Regions from separate parts of the Homo sapiens genome. Here region 1 is linked to region 2. The links are contacts of gene promoters, found by promoter capture Hi-C in blood cells and fetal thymus (Javierre and others, 2016). All regions are on one chromosome and are shown on one strand. Each heading gives the region's core, a stretch centred on a gene start or on the middle of the fragment in contact. The rest is flanking DNA. Distances are from core to core; before and after follow the strand shown. Region 1 holds the start of RBP5 (retinol binding protein 5). Region 2 holds the start of IFFO1 (intermediate filament family orphan 1).

Region 1 (3,436 bases), core at 500-2,999, 570 kb before region 2:
GGGCAGGGCAGGGCCAGGCGTTTGCCTCCCCTGGGAGCCTCCAGCCTGCGGATTCCACCTTGCGGGAGGGATACAGGGGGTCTCCAAGGAGCGGGGTACAGCAGGGCAGGGACGGAAAGGAGCCTGCCGCCCACACTAGTCCATAAAGCGGGCCTGGGCAGATCCCAATCTGGGTAGCTGAGGCGGTGGACTTGCAGCGGCTTCCCGTTTCCCCCAGCCCAGCGTCCTCACTCTCTCACTCCCACCCCAACCCCGCTACTGCAGGATGACGTCAGCACAGCCGGGCAACGATTGATGGGGCCGCCGGCCAATCAGGTGACTGGGAGGGGGGGGGACCAGGTGCTGCAGCGGGGGAGGGAGCCAATGAGACTGGGGCGTCGGGGCTGGAGAGTTTCAAGGCTCCTTCCCCTGGCTGCAATTTTGGGGGAGCCGAGGAACTGCGGGGGCTGGGGAGGAAGCTGGAGAGCCACGGAGGGGGTGGGAAAGAAGAGGGACGTGGGGAGAAAGAAGCCAGAAGCCAGGGGGTGGGGAAGAGAGACGTCAGCGGGACCTGAGGGCGGCCAGGAGGGGTGGCACCGCGTCACCCCGCCCCCCAACTCTGCCATAACCTGTTTCCACAGCCCCTTCCATCCACAGATCCGTGCTGCGTGCCCTCTGGGAAGGGTGAAGTAAAACCCTCAGTCTGAGCCTGAGAAATCCTGGCATTTGTAGCCCAGGGCTGCGAGGAAGCCACAGGGCGGTCCGCAGGGCGGTATCGAGGCTCTGGGACCCAAGGAGGGGCAGGACGTCGTGCACCCCTCGCGCACGCACCTGTCGGGACCGGCCGCCTCCTCCTGCCTACCTGTCCTGCCTCCTTCGCCCCGAATTTCACCTTAAACCATGATGAACCAAGCCCAGTGGATTCTGAAGCCCGGGACGATGGCAGGTTCGAGAGAGAATTGGGCAGCTGGGGGCGGGGCACAATATTATTTAGGCGCCTCCACCCCACCTTCACAGAAATACATCTGGAAAGCATGGGCTGTCCTAGGGCTGGGGACTGGGGGTTACGGTCTCATCGATGACTCAGAGGGAGAGAAAACCCCCTGGGTCCCAAGCCAAAAAGAATAAAATTCTCCAGAATAGCCAACAAACTCCTCTCAGGCTGTCTGTTCCGGACTTTGAACTCAGCACCCCTCGGGCTCCACCTCCCTCCTAATGGCTCTTTAGGACCAAGAGTCTGGAATGCCACTTTGGGGTCCCAGTTGAGCACACTACCTGAGGGAGCTCTGAGAGCCAGGCCTACAGGGTGCTCTTCATGGTGGCAGCTGGCCATCCTCACCCCCTCCCCTCACATCTTCCAACATCACTCAGTCCCAGGATCTCAGGATATTGTTGGAACTCATCTCCACCTCACACAGCCAGACCAGCCTCAGGTGTCTCCCAGGAAAGACTGCCCCTCAGGCCCTGGGACGGTTCCCAAGCCTGCCAGAAATGAGGTGGAGGCCAACACTGACCTTTGGATGGCTGAGTTTTGGATGACTGACAGCCCCAGATCCTGCTCCAGGTTCCTTCCTCAGGAAGGATCCTGCTCCAGGTTCCTTCCTCAGGAAAAGCCAAGGTCAGGCGCAACTTTGCCAAATCCCTGCCCCTCCTTCAGGCTGGAGACACCACCCCCAAACTCACCATGCGGGGAGGGAAGAAGTCTGGTAGGGACTCTTATTGCAACAGGGCCCCAGCCTTATAAAAAGCCCTGGTAACCCGGCCATTACACATCCTGTCTCTGTGTGTGGAGCTGGCTGGAATCTCTCAGCCTCACCTGCCAGACAACACCCCCTCCTTCCTCACCCTGTCTCCTGCATTCTCCTGAAACCTTCATCCACACAATGCCTCCCAACCTCACTGGCTACTACCGCTTTGTCTCGCAGAAGAACATGGAGGACTACCTGCAAGCCCTAAGTAATGGCCTCGCCCTCCCAGACCCCTGTCACTCCCTTTCTCCCCTCTTCCTTCCTGCTTCTTGGTCCCATGGAGAAGAGGGAATGCCCGGGGTTGGACACTGTGGAAAGGCTCAGGCGGCTGGCACCAGACCTGGGATCCATTTCTAACCAGGCATTGGTAGGAGGGGGTGAATCCACAGTCCCAGACCCAAAGAAGGGAAACTCACAGCCCTGAGGGGCTGCTGCAGGCAGAGGAGCTCCTGGCTGGCTAGCAGCACCCCTACTAACAGGCAGCCCCCACAGACATCAGCTTGGCTGTGCGGAAGATCGCGCTGCTGCTGAAGCCGGACAAGGAGATCGAACACCAGGGCAACCACATGACGGTGAGGACGCTCAGCACCTTCCGAAACTACACTGTGCAGTTTGATGTGGGAGTGGAGTTTGAGGAGGACCTCAGGAGCGTGGACGGACGAAAATGCCAGGTACATTTCCCCTGGCTGGGCGGTGGCCGGAAGGAGGCATCACAGGAGACTCCTAACAACATGGGGCAAAACAAAGTGACCTTCCCCAGCCAGAGCAGCGGGGAGGAGGGGAATGGTCACCACAGCAGGGAATGCAGTCCCCAGGATACCAGTCTCCAGAACTAACAGGTCCTGGTGCTCCCTGTCTCTCTCCCACTTCTTCCCTGCCCCCTCTTATCACCAGCCCAAAGGGCAAAGAACAGGCCAACCCAGACCGAAGAGCAAACATTTGCCCACCCTCCAGCCTGTGACACTGTTGGTCACCCAGAGTCCCTTTTACTTTAGCATCAATAACTTCACTCTCCTGCATTTCTTTCTACTTCTTACATATTCCTTCTTAGCCTCCTTTGCAGATCCTAGTCCTCCTATTAATCCTTTAAACTGGAGTTTTCTCCGCAGAGTTTTGTTCTTAATGTCTTCTCCCTTTTGTCTGCCCACTATCCATAGGCTAAATCATCTACACCCATGCCTTCTGCTTCCATCTATAGGCTGCCCTTGGCATGAATTCTCCAGCCAGAGCCATCTCCTGAGCTCCAGGGCAATGTTTTCAACTGCCTACAAAATACAGTTGGCCCTCCATATTCATGGGTTCTGCATCCACAGCTTCAGCAAACTGCAAATGGAAAAATATTTGGGAAAAATAAAAATAAAAAATAACAATACAAAATGATACAAATAAAAAACAATACAGTATAGCAACTATTTACAGAGCATGTACATTGCATTAGGTATTATAAGTAATCTAGAGATGATTTAAAGCATATGGGAAAAGGCTGGGCGTGGTGGCTCACACCCATAATCCCAAGACTTTGGGAGGCTGAGGCAGGCAGATCACTTGAGGCCAGGAGTTCAAGACCAGCCTGGCCAACATGGTGAAACCTCATCTCTACTAAAAATACATAAATTAGGCCAGGTGCAGTGGCTCACACCTGTAATCCCAGTACTTTGGGAGGCCAAGGCGGGCGGATCACCTGAGGTCAAGAGTTCGAGACCAGCCTG
Region 2 (3,253 bases), core at 150-2,649:
ACCTTCTGTCACAAAGACCCAAGCTTCCTCCAGCTTCCAGGATAGCAGTCAGCCAGCTGGAAAAGCCGAAGGGATCAGGGAGCCAAAGGTGACTGGGAAGCTAAAGCAACGATCACCTAAATTACAGTCCTCCAAGAAAGTTGCTTTCCTCAGGCAGAATGCCCCTCCCAAGGGCACAGACACACAAACACCGGCTGTGTTATCCCCATCCAAGACTCAGGCCACCCTGAAACCTAAGGACCATCATCAGCCCCTTGGAAGGGCCAAGGGGGTTGAGAAGCAGCAGTTGCCAGAGCAGCCTTTTGAGAAAGCTGCCTTCCAGAAACAGAATGATACCCCCAAGGGGCCTCAGCCTCCCACTGTGTCTCCCATCCGTTCCAGCCGCCCCCCACCAGCAAAGAGGAAGAAATCTCAGTCCAGGGGCAACAGCCAGCTGCTGCTATCTTAGATGGTTGAAAACTAGACGGGTGGCTCACTGCCATTGTCACCAGGTTGGAACTCTTGCCTCTGTGAGGATGCCTTCTCTACTGTGCATACCCATGAAATTTAATACACATTTTAAAACCTCTGGCCACTGAGTATTTTTGAGGGAACTGGGTGCTGCCTTTGCCGCTTTAAGGGTAAAGATGGGAGGTGGGACTGGGATCTTCTGAGGAGAGGGAATGGTTGGGTGCTACTGAGAAATAAGGTCAGTTTTAGGCTCCTGCATCCTTGGGTTTTCCCAGGAAGGGAAAGCCCTGGAGTCAGAGCTAGGGGTGATTGAACTCCGGGGAGAGGAGGGCAATAGAAGTGTAGGGGAAGGCGGGGCACACTAGCTCATGCCTGTAATCCCAGCACTTTCTGGGAGGCCAAGGCGGGTGGATCACCTGAGGTCAGGTGTTCGAGACCAGCCTGGCTAACATGGCGAAACCTCGTCTCTACTAAAAATACAAAAAATCAGCCGGGTGTGGTGGCGGGTGCCTGTAATCCCAGCTACTCGGGAGACTGAAGCAGGAGAATCGCTTGAACCTGGGAGGCTGAGGTTGCAGTGAGCCAAGATCGCGCCACTGCACTCCAGCCCGGGCGACAGTGAGACTCGGTCTCAAAAAAAAAAAAAGTCGTGTAGGGGAGATGGGCTTGCCACCAGAACCCATGGGGTACTGGAGGTCCTGGGCTTTACGCCACCCCGGCTGGAGTCCAGGCGGTGGCTCCCCTCATCACAGGGCTCGGCCTCAGACCCGGAAAGGTCCAGGGTCCGGCCTCCAATTGGAGCCTGTCATTGGCTTCCCCTCGGCCCGCCCCCTGACCTCTGCCCCGCTGCCGAGCCGCCTGATTGGTCGGCTCTGTCCCGCCGGCGCCGCATTGGCTCTTCTGGCTCGCCTTCCATCCCTGCTCCTGCACCGGTCTGCATCTCCCAGCAGAAGGCGCAGCCATGAATCCGTTATTCGGCCCCAACCTCTTCCTCCTGCAGCAGGAGCAGCAGGGCCTGGCCGGGCCACTGGGGGACTCACTGGGAGGCGACCACTTCGCCGGGGGAGGAGACTTGCCCCCGGCGCCTCTCTCGCCGGCCGGCCCTGCTGCCTACTCGCCGCCCGGGCCGGGCCCGGCCCCGCCTGCCGCCATGGCCCTCCGCAATGACCTGGGCTCCAACATCAACGTGCTCAAGACCCTGAACCTCCGGTTCCGCTGCTTCCTGGCCAAGGTGCATGAGCTGGAGCGCCGGAACCGGCTGTTGGAGAAGCAACTGCAGCAAGCGCTGGAGGAGGGTAAGCAGGGCCGGCGGGGCCTGGGTCGTCGCGACCAGGCAGTGCAGACCGGCTTCGTCAGCCCCATCCGGCCCCTGGGGCTGCAGCTGGGCGCCCGGCCGGCCGCTGTCTGCAGCCCTTCGGCGCGCGTGCTGGGCTCGCCCGCGCGCTCCCCGGCCGGCCCCCTCGCGCCCTCCGCGGCCAGCCTCTCGTCGTCCTCCACCTCCACCTCCACCACCTATTCCTCGTCGGCCCGCTTCATGCCCGGCACCATCTGGTCGTTCTCGCACGCCCGCCGGCTCGGGCCGGGACTGGAGCCCACTCTGGTGCAAGGGCCTGGCTTGTCGTGGGTGCACCCGGATGGGGTGGGCGTCCAGATCGACACCATCACGCCCGAGATCCGCGCTCTCTACAACGTGCTGGCCAAAGTGAAGCGGGAGCGGGACGAGTACAAGCGGAGGTAGGGATTGGGAAAGGGGGACAGGTCTCTCTGTGTCATACCACTCACAACGGGCCGCGAGTTGGTGTGGGTTCCGAAGAATCAGGGGTGAAAAGAATGAGAGTAAAGTTTGTGCTGTGTAATGAGGAGCTTGGAAGCAATTGGATGCAGGGAGACTAGAATCCGCAGAGAATGCAGAAGCCCTGCTCGTGACAGGAAGAAGGACGCTGGGAGCGGAACACGGGGGGATTCCTACTTTTCCGGCTTGTCTCTGCCATCCAGGCTTAACTGCGGGTTTTGTGCGGTGTGAAAGGGACTGGGGCTCTGCCCTACCGGTCTCAGCCCTGGGGCAGGTTAGGGATATAAACTTCAAAAGTAGGAGGCAAGGATATAGCGTAAATTTGGGAGACTAAATTGAGTGAAACTGGAAGGGGCTGGTGAGGGAGGGGCTGTACCTTGCAACGAGTGATTCTTTCACACCCCAAGGTTTCCCAAAGAATATTGATGGAAACCAGGTACCTGCTGTGGTTTCATAGGAAAAGCTCCGGGACCTCAAGCCATTGCTTGAGTAGGTCAACAAACTGGGAAAAGAAAGAGTGAAGGGAATTCACTAGGGTGAGGGTGGAGAGCAGGGCTGACAGGGGAATCTTGGCAGTATAAAGCGCCAGTGGGGAGGGAGAGTGGAGAGCCAGCAGGGGACTGAGCAGGGAGAAGCTGGGATATGGGCCCTCCCTAGGACCGCGAGGCCGCGGGGCGGGCCCGGTGCATTCTGTGGATGAAGATTTGGCTGTCTGAGAGGAGCCCGGCCCCAAGGGGCAAGGGAAAGGGATGTGATGCCAGGAGTGCTGGCTGTATACCAAGTGGATTCCTTAGATGGCTGATAACCAAGCCGATAGGACAGGAGTGAGAGCAGAGGTAGTGTCTTGCAGACTCCAACCCAAGCCTTGAGGAGGGAGCGGGTGACTGACAGGCTTTGGTTTGGCGGCCTCCCCTCTCATCTCAGCTATTATGACCCCTTGTGGGCGGGCCTGGGAACTACCTATGCAGCCCAGTGTGGCGGAGATTCAGCACTGGGTGAGGATTGGCCGAA

The links. The method cuts DNA at HindIII sites, captures the fragments that hold promoters and counts their contacts. A CHiCAGO score of 5 or more calls a contact.
Region 1: a contact is called between the fragment with the promoter of RBP5 here and the fragment with the promoter of IFFO1 in region 2, in 6 of 17 cell types (non-activated CD4 T cells, activated CD4 T cells, naive B cells and 3 more). The highest score is 9.1, in non-activated CD4 T cells.

Annotation. Positions count from the first base shown.
Region 1 is chr12:7,127,202-7,130,637 of GRCh38, reverse strand. RBP5 (retinol binding protein 5) reads left to right here and starts at 1,749. Exons shown (of 4, transcript NM_031491.4): 1 at 1,749-1,935; 2 at 2,220-2,398. The coding sequence starts at 1,863. It overlaps CLSTN3 (calsyntenin 3), which reads right to left and starts at 267. Exons shown (of 18, transcript NM_014718.4): 1 at 1-267. RefSeq lists a silencer at 411-510. The HindIII fragment of the contact is 14,463 bases long and covers 1-3,436 here.
Region 2 is chr12:6,554,188-6,557,440 of GRCh38, reverse strand. It overlaps IFFO1 (intermediate filament family orphan 1), which reads left to right and starts at 1,399. Exons shown (of 10, transcript NM_001193457.2): 1 at 1,399-2,184. The coding sequence starts at 1,412. NOP2 (NOP2 nucleolar protein) reads left to right here. Exons shown (of 16, transcript NM_001258308.2): 16 at 1-570. The coding sequence ends at 448. RefSeq lists silencers at 1,222-1,381, 1,432-1,671, 1,782-1,961 and enhancers at 2,422-2,922, 2,923-3,253. The HindIII fragment of the contact is 7,963 bases long and covers 26-3,253 here.